Linked DNA regions of Homo sapiens: region 1 is linked to region 2. The links are contacts of gene promoters, found by promoter capture Hi-C in human tissues and cell types (Jung and others, 2019). All regions are on one chromosome and are shown on one strand. Each heading gives the region's core, a stretch centred on a gene start or on the middle of the fragment in contact. The rest is flanking DNA. Distances are from core to core; before and after follow the strand shown. Region 1 holds the start of TRN-GTT2-4 (tRNA-Asn (anticodon GTT) 2-4). Region 2 holds the start of MEDAG (mesenteric estrogen dependent adipogenesis).

The links. The method cuts DNA at HindIII sites, captures the fragments that hold promoters and counts their contacts. A contact is called where the count stands out against the background at its distance.
Region 1: a contact is called between a fragment that was not itself captured here and the fragment with the promoter of MEDAG in region 2, in 3 of the 25 tissues and cell types used here (aorta, hippocampus and mesenchymal stem cells).

Annotation. Positions count from the first base shown.
Region 1 is chr13:30,669,600-30,676,605 of GRCh38, forward strand. TRN-GTT2-4 (tRNA-Asn (anticodon GTT) 2-4) reads right to left here and starts at 4,438; the gene lies at 4,365-4,438. RefSeq lists a silencer at 4,288-4,797. The HindIII fragment of the contact is 4,519 bases long and covers 932-5,450 here.
Region 2 is chr13:30,901,417-30,908,920 of GRCh38, forward strand. It overlaps MEDAG (mesenteric estrogen dependent adipogenesis), which reads left to right and starts at 4,855. Exons shown (of 5, transcript NM_032849.4): 1 at 4,855-5,377. The coding sequence starts at 5,100. The region is part of intron 2 of TEX26-AS1 (TEX26 antisense RNA 1); the gene reads right to left. RefSeq lists an enhancer at 5,456-5,957. The HindIII fragment of the contact is 12,319 bases long and covers 1-7,504 here.

The sequences.
Region 1 (7,006 bases), core at 1,941-4,440, 230 kb before region 2:
GGACTACAGGTGCATGCCACCACGCCCGGCTAATTTTTTGTATTTTAGTAGAGATGGGGTTTCACCGTGTTGCTCAGGCTGGTCTTGAATTTCTGAGCTCAGGCAATCCGCCCGCCTCGGCCTCCCAAAGTGCTGGGATTATAGGTGTGAGCCATCATGCTCGGCCCTATGTGATATTTATTACAATGAATTCCAATGATCAGACCTATACTCAAGTATAAGTGAATATATCATTCAATGAAGTATAAATGATCATTATGTTCATATTCACACATACAATAATGTACTCAAGTTTATTGCTAAGGTAATTCAGAATCTCCTTATTTTGAAGTGTGCATTTGATATACCTGTTTGGGAATAACTAGTTTCTTATCTTTGACAGAAAATAATTTTGTTGTTTTGTTTTTACTAAAAAAGCATGGTGAAAAATGGCTCCATTTCTAAGAGAGGTAACTAAAATATCGCAATTTGCTGGGTGTCATTAAAGTAACTCACAAGGGAAAAAATGCAAATTGGTATCTGCTGATGGAGTAAATCTCCGCAGAAGTGATGACCCTGAAAGGATCAATATATTAAAGCCCCTCCCAGCTGGTCATTCCAGATTGCAACAATAAAGCATTAAGTGTTAAAACCTCAAGGCAGCTTTTTTTTTTTTTTTTTGTCTCAAGTCCTTTATTATTAATTTTATAGACCTACTTAATTACTAAGCCAAAAAAAATCAAACTTGTTTCTCTTTGTGACTTGTCAATAGTATTAAACTATTCTGGTTTTTTATTTTTGTGTTACCTTAAAGTCTCCAGTTTAGTAATTTTTCTGTACCTAAACACTTCGGATTTGACATGCTTTGTGGCCTTTATCAGTAGTTAGAATGTAAATCCAATAAATAAAGTAAAAGCCAGGTCTTCAAAACCTGGGGGCCAAGAACTCTGTTTTAGAGGGCCTGTGACTCTCTTGGACACTGGACAAAATCTCATCTCTAAATATGGATATTTTAGGGAGAGGGTCTTTAGGCTGTCATTTGGATTTTCACAGGGCTCCATGTATCCATAAGGTAGTCTCTTGGGAAGTTTGACTTCAATAAATGAAGTTTAACTTAAACCTAAAATGAAATTTAACTGAAAAACAAAATCCAATGAAAGATGCTTTCTTATGCAAAAACAAACAAACAAAAAAAAAACAAAAAAACCCCAAAAAACCCAAAGCCAAAGATTGTTTCTGAAATTAGGTTCTAGGTTCCAGAGCAACTCCATGGTGGGGAATCAGCCACATGTAAAGTAAGCTAAGAGTTTGGACAATTTGTAATATTTATTCCTAGGTTTCTTTAAGACCCTTTCAGATTTTGAATTCCTATTAGTAGCATCAGCCAGGTTCTAAATGTAGGCATCACCATAGACACTTCCCCACTGCTGCAGTCCCCAACACTTGCCCAATTTTCCCTTGAATTGCACCCATGCTGCCTTCTCCAGGCCTATTTGAACCCAGAACCTCGTTGTGCCTCGTTTGAAATATAATTTCCTCCTAACTAGTCTCTGATCTACTATTTCCCCTACATTGCTGCCACACTAATCACCTAAAATAGATTTCATTCTACCCTGAAACAGAAATCTCTAATAAGTTACTCCCTTCCCTTACGGGGTAAAGTTAGCCACATCCTAGGTATTCAAGGACCTTCCAGGAGCTAAGAACATTTCCCCTGCACCTTCTTGAAGTACACTTGTCCTATGTACTGGTTATGTTCATTTCTTACCCTCGCTCTCGTTTTGTCTGGAATTTTCCTTGGCCTTAAATGCCTCTCACCTGCCTGCCCACATCTCTCAGGGTTGTTTCAAATCCTCAATGAAGGCTCACAGCCCCAGTCTATGTTGGCCACTTACTTCGTGGCCTGGGAACATTTTTCTTTGGCTGACTTGCTGACACTCCATCAGATGCATTTTTATCTGGTTGTCCATCTGTGAACCATACCCTGAGAAGGCAGAGAGTGCCTCTGCACTGAACATGTGCTAGGGGACAGGTCTGTGCTAGAGGGGCAAGCACTGGGAATGAAGAACTGGTCCCTACTCCCAAGGAGTTCATATCTCAGTGGAGGTGACAAGCAACTCACTGTTTCCGGGGGTTGTGGTGACTGCTGGGAGAAGGGGTGTCTATATTAGATCGAAGCAGCATCAGGGGAGGTTCCCTGAGAAGGTGATGCCTCAGCGGATGTCTCCCAGCTAAGTGGGGTGGAGGTGGAGAAGGGCAGAGCAGGGAGAGGATCTAGGTGGGGCGTGTAAGTCTGCATGGGTAACTCAGGGAACCCTTGGTAACTGCATGTAACTGTGTGAAGCTTTCATGAAGGAACATGGTAGGAGACTAGGGTATGGACTATAGAAGCCCTTTTGCTAAGCTCAAGAATTTGAGGCCGGGAGCGGTGGCTCACGCCTGAAATCCCAGCACTTTGGGAGGCCAAGGCGGGCGGATCACGAGGTCAGGAGATCGAGACCATCCTGGCTAACATGGTGAAACCCCGTCTCTACTAAAAAAAAAGTACAAAAAATTAGCGGGGCGTGGTGGCGGGCGCCCGTAGTCCCAGCTACTCAGGGAGCTGAGGCAGGAGAATGGCATGAACCCGGGAGGCGGAGCTTGCAGTGGGCGGAGACTGTGCCACTGCACTCCAGCCTGGGCAACAGTGCAAGACTCCATCTGAAAACAACAACAACAACAAAAAATTTGAAGTGTATCTTGAAGGAAATCCCTTGGAGCCTAAAAATGATCATTGATAACAGAAAATGATCTCTGCTCTCGCCTAGGGTAATATATTCAGCTTCAAAGTGGAAGGGCATGTTTTCCAAGGGCATGTTTTCTAAGTCCCTGTAATTGTAGTGATAGCAAATATATGCCCTGCATCTTGAAATGTAAGACTAGGTTTGAACAGTATATAAATTATCTTATGATCTAATTTCCCCTCATTTTGTGGTTTCTACTATAAGCTACCCAGAAGTGTAGACAGGACGTTTGGAATTTGATGGGCATCGGAAAGATTCCTACCTAAGAACATTTTTTTTTTTTTTTTTTTTTCTGAGAAGGAGCCTTGCTCTGTCACCCAGGCTGGAGTGCAGTGGCACGATCTCAGCTTACTGCAACCTCCACCTCTCAGGTTCAAGTGATTCTCCTGCCTCAGCCTCCTGAGTAGCTGGGACTACAGGTGTGCACCATCATGCCTAGTTAATTTTTATATTTTTAATAAAGGCAGGATTTCACTATGTTAGCCAGGCTGGTCTTGAACTCCTGACCCCATGATCTGCCCACCTTGGCCTCCCAAAGTGCTGGGATTACAGGTGTGAGCCACTGCGCCCGGCCTCTAAGAAAATTTTTGAGAGCTACTTGTTCTGTTGCCTGGAATTCCACCGTAAGTACGACGTTGTGTCTCCTTCTCCAGGGCTACTAACTAAACAACAGAGGGTATTGTGTTATCGACAATTATTTGATTGATAACTATCAGCAAACATTTGCCAAGGCATTCCTTTAAAGATAGCCTAGTGACTCTATTAACTACTCCTTCTTCCAGGCTTCTAAGTTCTGTTGGAGGTAAGTAGATCCCAGAGATAAAGCACCTACCATAGGACCTGAATCTTGGTAGAAATAAATTATATCATCATGTTATCATATTATCATGTGTTTTTCTATCTTTAAAGTCTTATGTGAATATTCTGCTTGAAAAATATGTGTCCTCTGTTAGACCAGAGTTGAAAATATGTTATTCAAGAACTTGTAACAGGAACCCGCACAATTTCTGCTGGAGTTTAATTTCAGGGTTAATTCTGTCAGCAATCTAAGGTAAACATTAACATTTTTCCCTAGATTCAAGTCCGTTGTCCAAAAGCTGTAACAGAACTTAACTGAATAAATAGTTTCTTAAGATGGTAAGCTTCCATATGCTTATAATGACTCCTCTACACGTTTTCATCTGGAAGGCTGCTCATGCTTTTGGAAGCAAAGAAGACAATCTTAAATAACTACATTTGCTTTTTGGTGGTGCCAGATTTTTCTGAGAAACACCAATGGAATTTATAAATTCACCAGTCAATGGGCAATTGAGTTGCTGTTTTGCTATTACCACTGCCGTTTGTGAGCATTGTTGGGAAGGTGTCTTGAAGCACACGTGCAAGTTTCCCTTGGATAAGTAGTAGGAATAGAATTGCCAAACCATGGCTTCCAGTGCAGACACAGTCTCTCCCTTGGGCCCAGCCACTAGGCACCACACATTAAGAGGATATTGTCTGTCCATGTCCTAGAAACGTTGTAGCATCATGCTCCTATTCGATTAAAAATCTCATTATTAAAATGAACCATCGGGTAAATGTTGTCTCGGGAAAAGAAGCACTGACCGTCCCTGGGTGGGCTCGAACCACCAACCTTTCGGTTAACAGCCGAACGCGCTAACCGATTGCGCCACAGAGACCCAGTTACTCAGGCCGCGCTGCGGTGTGTACAGATTTCCGCGGCGCCGGCAGCCGCTCTAGCCACCCTGGGCGTCGCCACCCCAGGCGTTGCCACCCCAGGCACGGGCTGAGAAGTCGCGGGGCGCGCCGAGGAGGCAGCGGAAGCGGCCGAGGTGCCCAGCGGCCGCCGCGGGGGGAGAGGCTGTGCCCCGGCGCGCGGGAGGGGGCGGGCGAGGCCGCGTGACTCCGGGCTTCTCTGGGGACGAAGCGCGCCCCTCGTGGCGGCAGCGGCCAGTGGTCCGCAGTCGGCCCGGACTCGGGGTAGGAAAGATCCTCTCAGCAATGGCTGCGCGCCATGCGTGCTCTGCGGCGGGGACCGTGCCGGCCGGGCGCGCCACCAGTAACCAGGGACCCAGGGGAGAACCTGCCAAGGGGAATAGGTCGCACGGAGAGAATACGACACGCTTGGAGGGAAGAACCACGTGCTGTACAGGTTTAAAGGATGGAGAGTCACGTGCGCTTAGGTCCCAAACTTAAGGGACCTAACCCTTTTTCTGGGTTGCCGCTATTGCCCCTTCTCCTTAGACAGTTTTTCATCTCATCACCTCTCACCCCGTAAAATGCAACGAACATAGATAGGCTGTGTATCAATGTAGACTGTATGTATATCTGTGCTTCGTACATAAAAAGAATATGATTTTTGCCACCTTCTAAGAACCAATTTGCACCCCATTTTGAGGCATATGGCCTCTGTTGAGATTGCATAGTTTAGGGGACATCAAAAAAGCCTTATAGAGGGACTGGCAATTAAGATAGCCTTTCAGTTTGAAATGGCCATTGAAGGCTTCTCCCTTTCCCTGACTTCTGAATTTTTTTTTTTTTTTTTTTTTTTTTTTTTTGAGATGGAGTCTTGCCCTGTTGCTGGAGTGCAATGGCGCGATCTCGGCTCACTGCAACCTCCGCCTCCCGGGTTCAAGCGATTCCTGCCTCAGCCTCCCGAGTAGCTGGGAATACAGGCGCCTGCCACCACGCCCAGCTAACTTTTGTATTTTTAGTAGAGGCGGGGTTTCGCCATGCTGGCCAGGCTGGTCTGGTACTCCTGACCTCGTGATCCGCCCGCCTCCGCCTCCCAAAGTGCTGGGATGACATTACAGGCGTGAGCCACCGTGCCCGGCCAATTTTTTTAGGCGCACTGTTCAGTGGCACTAAGTACATTCACATTGTTATGCAACTATCACCGCCATCCATTTCCAGAACCTTTTCATCTTCCGAAACAGAAGCTCCCTACCCATTACACGGTAACTCACGATTCCCCTCCTCTAGTCGGAACAATCACCATTCTACTTTCTGTCCCTTTGAATTTGACTACTCTTAGAGACCTCATGTAAATGGAGTCATACGGTGTTTGCCTGTGGCTGGCTTATTTCACTTACCATATGTCTTCAAGGTCCATCCACGTTGTAGCCTGTGTCAGGATTTCCTTCCTGGATAAGGCTGAATAAGCTGCACTGTATGCAGGTATCGCATTTTGCTTTTCCATTCATCTCTCCGTGAACATTAGGGTTGCTTCCACCTGCAGCTATGAACATGGGTCTACAAATAACTGATTCCCTGCTTTCAATTCTTTTGGGAATATACCCAGAGATGGAGTAGCTGGATCACATGGTTTGCTATTGGCTGTACCATTTTACATTCGCACCAACAGTGTACAAGAGTCCCTATTTCTCCTCATCTATTTTTTTTTTAAATAATGGGCATCCTAATGGGTATGAAGTATCATCTCATTGTGGTTTTGCTCTGCATTTCTCTAACGATTAGTGGTGTTGGGCATCTTTTCCAGACACCACCAATCTGAATTCTATGGCCCTTCGTTTACTCACTTCCTCCCAGCAAGAGCCATTTCTGCTTCAGCAAGGAGGAAGCTGCGACTGATAGAGGGAAAGGGCCCAGGGGGCTTGCAGAGTGGGGCCTGTGCCATGCAAGGAGAGGAGAAGAAGGTGGATCTTTGAGTAGGACTATCTGGAGATCCTGCTTTCACAAGGTCCTTGCTTGTGTGCTGGGCAGCTTTTGGAGCTAGTTATCTTTATTTTAGCCCTTGAGGGATATTTAGGCATGTGGTGCTTGTGAGCAGCCAATCCATGAAGAAGGAACTGATGGTCTCCACCTTGGAAATATTGGAAGAGATAATGCCGTCCAAATTGCAGTTTTAGAAGTTAACTTAAAATTATGCTATTTTAATGGAATTTTGGGTGCATTTCCATTTTCTTCTTAAGAATTGCTGGAATTTCTTAAGTGTTTAGGTGATGATCTCTTTTTGTGATTCCTTTTTTAAAAAACAACAACAAAATCTTTCAAATACATAAGAAATAGGCCGGGCACGGTGGCGTAATCCCACCACTTTGGGAGGCCGAGGAGGGCGGATCATGAGGTCAGGAGATCAAGACCATCCCGGCTAACACGGTGAAACCCCGTCTCTACTAAAAAATACAAAAAATTAGCCGGGCGTGGTGGCGGGCGCCTGTAGTCCCAGCTACTCGGGAGGCTGAGGCAGGAGAATGGCATGAACCCGGGAGGCGAAGCTTGCAGTG
Region 2 (7,504 bases), core at 3,605-6,104:
TTGCTCAAGATGACATGGTTAGCAAATGTTAGAGTTAGATTTTTCAACTCTAAACCCTTTGCACCTTTCACTACATTGTGCAAGTTCTTCACAAGCTAAGGGAAGAGAGAACTGCAGGGACAAGTGTAGTCTAGTGAGATCAAAACAGAAAGTGTTTATGAGGTTTAGTAACAAGGAGGTCATTGGAGACTTGGTCAGTTTCAGGAGGTGTGATGGGCAGAAGTCAAGGTATAAAGTCTTGAGGAGTAAATGTCAGGCAAGGAATTTAGAGAATTTTTTCAGGGAGTTTGACCATAGAGTGAAGAAGAGAGATGGAAATGTACTAAAAGGGAAAGTGAGATGTTAAAATGTTTAAAAAGTTATTTTTTTTAAGACAAAAGAAACCTGTAGATGTTTGTATGCTGACAGAAAAATCCAAAAATGGTGGCAGTGGTGGTGCCTAATTGATTTTTAATCTTTTGTGAATTTGGTAAGGTTGAATCAAATTTCTGAATATGAACTTTGGACCCCCAAAGCTGAGAAACTGAGCCTGTGAGCTGCTGATGTCCCCATAGCACAGTTACCTTAATGGGGACACATAAGGATGGCAAAATCTTTATCTTGTCTTTTACCTGTGAGCATAGCCACAGACTCACCAATGGGTGATTGCCTTGCTATAAAGTCTCTAAATTTGAGTGGTAACATTATAGCTAAACTGTTAATCTCACTTGTAGCGTAAATAGCTGTGAGGTACCCTACCCCAACTGCAAAGATTTAAAACCATGAAAAATCACTGCTGGTGAGAAGACAAATTGGTGCCAGCCTTTAGGAGAATAATGACACACGTTTCCAGAGCAATGCACATTCTCATATCATTTGTCCCAGTAATTCCATCTCTGAGAGCTTGGATACAGAAAAACGAAATCAAAGTATGAAGATGTTTATTGCAGCATTGTTTATAAGGAAAAACAAGAAACAATCTGAGTGTTCAAGAGTAAAGAAATGTCTAGACAAACAATAGAATATACACTTGATGGAAAATAGCATAGTGATTTAAAATACTATTCACAAAGAAAATGAAATTTTCACAACATAATATACATATAATGTTAAATGCACAAAGCCGAATAAAAATTCTACGATAGGAACACAACTATGTAAGCAAACCAAAAAAAGACTGAAAAGGTCGTCACCAGGAGTGATTGTTTGCCTGGCTGGTACTTGGGTAATGAAAAAGACATTAAACATGAAAAGATCTCTCTAGCTCTCTACTTATTAGCAATGGCTTACATTACATTGAATACTATTTTTTTTCTGTTCACTTTTTCATATCTTTCTCTGGCATTTTGGTAATGCATAAATTACCCATAAAGAAATGCAGGTGTTTTGCTGAAAACGCATCAAATGAAACCTCTAGACAACATACCAAGAAAGCATCTTTAAAATATTTTTATTATGCTCAACATCATTTTTCTGTATAAAACAATACACATTTATTTGGAAAATACAGGAAAAGTGTAAAATCACACAACTGTGGTGAGGTAAAGAAAAATTTCGTTTAATTCTTCTACTCAGATCTAAGTGTTGATATCTTACTATGAAGGAAACGGATTTTTTTTTTTGAGATGGAGTTTGACTCTTGTCACCCAGGCTGGAGTGCAATGGCACGATCTTGGCTCATTGCAACCTCTGCCTCCCAGGTTCAAGCGATTCTCCTGCCTCAGCCTCCCAAGTAGCTAGGATTACAGGCATTCAACACCATACCCAGCTAATTTTTGTATTTTTAGTAGAGATGGGATTTCACCATGTTGGCCAGGCTGGTCTGGAACTCCTGACCTCAGGCGATCCACATGCCTTGGCCTCCCAGAATACTGGAATTATAGGTGTGAGCCACCGTGCCTGCCCAGGAAACGGTTTTTTGATAGGAGGGACTGGTATGTTTATCTTAAACAAATGCATATAATTCTGATATAAAACCCCGATGTAACATTTTACCCTTCAAGAAAGCCAAATCATTCATAGACAGTGTGGTGTAGGTTTAAGGGCAATCAAGAGTTGTTGAGCTTGATCTATGTGAAGCTCATAGGGTGAGTTGTTGAGTTCGATCTATGTGGAATGGGGAGAGTAGGGGCTGGTGAGGGCTCTGTAGTGGACCTGCCCTCCTTGACTTACTAATTGAAAGCAACTTCTGCAGCTGTTATTGTTGTTGAGGTTGTATTCCACCAGCAGGTTGGAGACACAGGCAAAATATAACTAGATTTCAGCCACATGTTTGGACATGGTGCCAGAAGACTAGTTCATGCTGATTCCTGCATTTCTCCCTGTTATTTGAGGACAGGGGCCATCCTCTATTCAACTCTGTATCTCCAGCAAAGCACTGAACATAGCAGATGCTCAATTAACATATGTTGAAGTAAACTAAAGGCCTGGGTTCAAATTCCTACCCTATCATGTATTAGCTAGATGCCCCCATCCACTTCTTTGGCTTCAACCCCGTCTTTGATCTAGAGACTTTCAAATCTCAATCATTGACCTTGTCTTTCCAAAACGCCAGACCCAACTAACTCCTTGCCTCCTGGACTTTTCTACCTTGATGTTCCATAAGTAGCTCAAAATCAGTATGTCCCCCCTGAACTCATCACTATCTCTCCTCAAACTCCTACTCTTCCTCCTGTGAACCCTAGCTTCGTTAATGGTGTCACCATCTCTCTGGGTACCCAAGCAAGAGACTAAGTGGGTCTCTCTGCTCTTTTTCATTTATTTACTCATAAGATCCTTCCTGCTGACTCTGACTCAAAAATGTTGAAACCTCATCTCCATTCCCACAGCTGCTTCTGTTCAGACCCCCATCATATGTTATCTGGATTATTACATCAATCTCCTAACTGGTTTCTCTGCCTCTGATCTTCCTGTTTCAAAACATCTTCTTTGGTCATAACCAAAGGTGTCTATCTGAACTGAGGCATAATTATATCACTTCCTTTCTTTAAAACATCCCAAGGCTCCTCATTGTCTTAAGAATCCAAATTCCTGACAACTCAGAGGGTCTGTCACAATCTGGCTCCAACAGCCCTTTCTGGTCTCATCTCATATAAAACTGACCCCTCTTATCCCAAATAGGATGGTCTGCCCTAGCTGTTTAAAAATTTCCCCCCTCCCCCAGATGGAACCATAGCATCTCTCTTTGCATAGAATGGTACAGAATCTTCTCTCCCATCTCCTTATTGCTGCTGCTCCTTCCCCTGGGAGCCTCCCCTGTGTATTGGAAGTCTAGCCATGTGTCACCTCCTTTGAGCACCCTTCTTGGGGCAGAACCACTTATTTCTCATAGTGCTTAGTCCATACATCTATGGTAGCACTTATTGGATCCTTGTGTGTGTGTGTGTGTGACCTCAGAGCTTAAGATGGTCCCTGGTGCATAGTGATGACTCTGTCAATGTTTGGGACAAGAGTGAAGTTCTAAATAGGGCACAATGGATTTAACTGCTGGCACCAAATCCCTCCCCTGTGAAAACAGCCCCAGCCTCTGAGTCCTGTCTACAGTCTCAGCCCACCCCAGACCCATTCTCTTTGCAGGGATCCTCAAACCTCCCTTTGCAAGAAGATCTTCTGGATGCTTTTTTCACAGGTAGAGCATCCTTCCTGCGCCACAAAAGGTTGAGTGGGTAGTGATCAATTCATGCTCAGTGAATTAGATTTGTTCAGAGAGGCCCAGAGATGGGGTAATGATCCCATGGGTAAAAGATCCATGTCTGGAGAAAGGATAGGTGTGCACCTAGAAGAAGAGAAGAGAGTGGGGCTCATTTATATTCTGAGATTTAAATGAGATGTGGCGGGAGGACTCTTCATCCCATCTGATTAAACCTACACAAGAGTTCATGTGGGGGCACACAAAGACTAACTAAGGATATTCTCTACGTTCTACTCAACTTTTGGGATGTAGCTTAGAATCCTAAAACACAGTACTACAGAAAGCCTCGAAACTAGGCTAGATTCTCCTCCCATCCCATCCAGGCTTCTCCGCAGCAGAAATAGGTGTTTAATTAAATGGAATAATATAGTTCTCCTTTCATACCTCAGGAGATCAATGAGCCCATAGCTAGCACTCACATATTTATAGACTGAAGAAATGAACATATTCTGGGGCTCAAGGAGATCACCACCTACTGGGGAGGCAGGGGAGAAGGGAGGATGCTAGGACCCTGCTATCCCCACTACACGGCACATTGCAGTCTAGGGTTCACCGTGCAGTAGAAAGGAGAAGCAAAGCGATGAAACCCTCGTGGGATTCGTGAAGGCTTTATGGAAAAGCGATGTGATGATCAGTGGGATTTCTAGGGGGAAGGGATCCAGGGCCAGCAACCAGCTGAAGGAAAGGCTGAAAGGAGGGAAATGCAGGGTACGATCTGGATGGAGTTAAAATGGCAGAAAACTGAGGCTGAGTGAGAGGTCTGGTACTGAGGTGGGGATCGGAGTTCCAGCACTGGCCTTTGACAGCCTCTGGGTCCCAGGTGGAATGGGTAGGGCCAGAGCCCTTGCCTTCTTCTCCAATCAACACCAGGGGTGTGGTGTCTTAGGCAAGGATGGGTGCTGTGCGCCCTGCCGCCCACCATAGGCAGGGCCTGGGAACCCGGGGAGGACTCTCCCCACCTCCAGCCTCCGGCAGTGTCCGCCAGGCAGGGCGGGGGCCAGCGCTGGTGTTGAGTAGTGGACCCCAGGGGGATGACTAAGCCTTGCCTGCGAGCAGACTCGAGCATGCCAAGTTATGAGACGATGATAACTCTGCCCCGAGCCTCTGGGGTCGTGGCCGTGGGCCGGCAGGGGCGAGGCGGGCGTCCAGAGGGCGGATAAAAGGGGCCGCGCTGCGCCGGGGCCGCTTTCTCCGCGCGGTGCCTGCAGGGCTCCCAGCGAGTGGCAGCTTGGGAGGGGCCGCCCGGGCGGTCAGACTGGCACCTGAGCGGCCACCGCGTCCCGGCCAGGCGGGCAGACCGACCCCCTCCTCACCTCGCGCGCGGCTGACGCAGGCAGGGCGCCCGGCCCCTCCTGGGGACCATCAGGTGCCGGCTGGGGGCTGTAGGCACCGGACGGAAGCAGGCGGTGTGAGGACCGACGACGCGGGCATGGCGGGGGCGGCCTGCGAGCCGGTGGCCAGGCCGAGCCTGACCTCCATCTCGTCTGGGGAGCTTCGCAGCCTGTGGACCTGCGACTGCGAGCTGGCCCTGCTGCCGCTGGCTCAGCTGCTGCGCCTGCAGCCCGGTGCCTTCCAGCTGAGCGGCGACCAGCTCGTGGTGGCCAGGCCCGGGGAGCCGGCGGCGGCGCGGGGGGGCTTCAACGTCTTCGGTGACGGCCTCGTGCGCCTCGACGGGCAGCTCTACCGCCTCAGCAGCTACATCAAGAGGTGGGTGGCCTCGCCGTGCGCCCTGGCCCGTCGCCTGGTACCCGCAGACGCCTCCACCCGGCTGCGGTCTCTGGGAGCCTGGGCTGTCCTCGCTGCCTGCGACACCGCGTGGCCCCTTGCTCCGTGCGCTTCTAGACTTTCCTTCTGCTTCTATCACCCGGAGCCTGCACGCTCGCCCTGGTTCTTCTGCCTCTTGCACTGACATTTTGCAGCTGCTGCTTGAAGCCGCCCAGAAGGGCATCAGGACTGGGGGCGAGGGGGAGGGCAGGGGCCCCCCAGCCAGAGCTCATGAGTGGCAGATGCTTCTCCCATTCTGGCTCCTTAACTGGGTCAGATGAGCTCAAATTGGGAGCACACCCTTTAGGGGCTGTCTGCAGCTCTGCAAGACTCACATCCTGGCTTTGGAGCATGGGTGGCGGTGAGGAGCAGGGGGCATGCACCATTCTGAGCACTGCCAGCCCTCTCCAGTGAGGAGACCGAGTGGAGAAGCATGCAAAAGCTCAAAGTTTCCCATCTCTGGCCTCACTTCGTGTTTCAAAAGTAAACAAATAAACCGCAGCTGAGAAGGGAACAAAGCCCCTGGAAGTCCAGCCCGGGGCCATGTGGGCTGTGGAAGGCACAGATAAGTTCTGGGGAAATAAGTGCGAAACCTGAGGGCCTTAATGGGAAGGAGGCCCCCAGGATGCTTGACTGTTGTGGCCAGAGTGCCCCCAAGCTCTTCTTGGCAGACCGGCAGGATGTGGCCCAGCCATCTGAAGCAGGCTTTGGTGCCACAGGGTAAAGGAGGGCACTTCAGGCCTGATTCCACATGGCCTCAGGCCTCCAGAGTTCACTCTTGGCAAGGGCCTGGAGTGCAAAGACCTGTTATATTTGTGCTGAGAGAGCCAAGTGCCTGAAGAGGCAAGCATGGTCTAGAGTTTGACTCAGAAATGAATAAGATAGCCAGCTTTTGAGACACAGCGCCTTTGCTACTGGGAAAGACAGCGTGCTGTGGCACCCTGTGGGTAGGAGGGAGCCAAGAGAGGGAAGCAAACAAAATGAGATATTGAACGTGCAGTCTTCAAAACTCTTGGAGAAAAAACCTTGCTTTTCCAAAGATAGTGAGGGCTCTGAATGCCTGAAGAACCATTCCCCAGCAAGAATTTCTCCCTTTCTTAGTGAAATGAAAATTCCAATTCCAAACCATAAGCGGAGGACTGTGGGAGGAACTGAGTCAGATGTGTGCAGATTTAAAAAGAAGATACCCATTGTATTTGAGAGCAGGGTATGAAAAATAAAAATGTCCAGAATGAACGAAGCCGTAAGTTAGGGTTTTGACAGAACCAGTTCTCCTAATTGTAGCAAACAGTGCTGCAGAATCTGAAATGATTTTGAAGTCTGTCATCTAACTTTTGCTTTGAACACCTCCTACACAAAAGAAAATTAAACAACAGTGATTCCCCTGACAGCTTTGAATCTAGAATAAACAACTGGGCCACAGTGACCAGGTAACACAGACCAGGGTGCAAATACAAAACAACAAATAATAGGCTATCATTGTATAAGCAATACTGTGAGGGCTTCTTTTGTACCTGGGAAATAGCAAGGAGCCTCTGAAAATAATTTGGGTGATGGAAGGAGCTATCTATTGTCCTCAGGCAGGGAAGGAGGCTTTTATAACTGAGTGTGCAGTCCTGAAGGATGGCCAGGAGGGAATGTGGTCTAAATGGAGACAGCCTTCCAGGCAGAGGGGGAGGACTGGACTGTGGGCAGCAGTGAGAGGTTCTGCCCTCGGGAATCAGGAGGTGGGAGGTATGCCGAAGCCAGAACTCAGATATCTAAAGCTTCGTTCCTCTGAGCTGCCAAATTTGCCAGTTGTTTTTGGCTTTAGAGATAGCATAAAACCTCCCTCCCTCCCCTCCCTCCCTCCCCACTTCCTTCCCTCTCTCCCTCCCTCCCTCCCTTCCTTCCTTCCTTCTTTTTGAAAAATAAGCTCTGGCCAGTTTTATTAAAGATTTGCATGATTTATTTTCACCAGTCTGTTCTGGCATGCTTCCAAAGATCTCAGGGCTGGGTGCAGTGCCTCATGCCTGTAATCCCAGCACTTTGGGAGGCTGAGGTGGGCGGATTGCTTGAGTCCAGGACTTC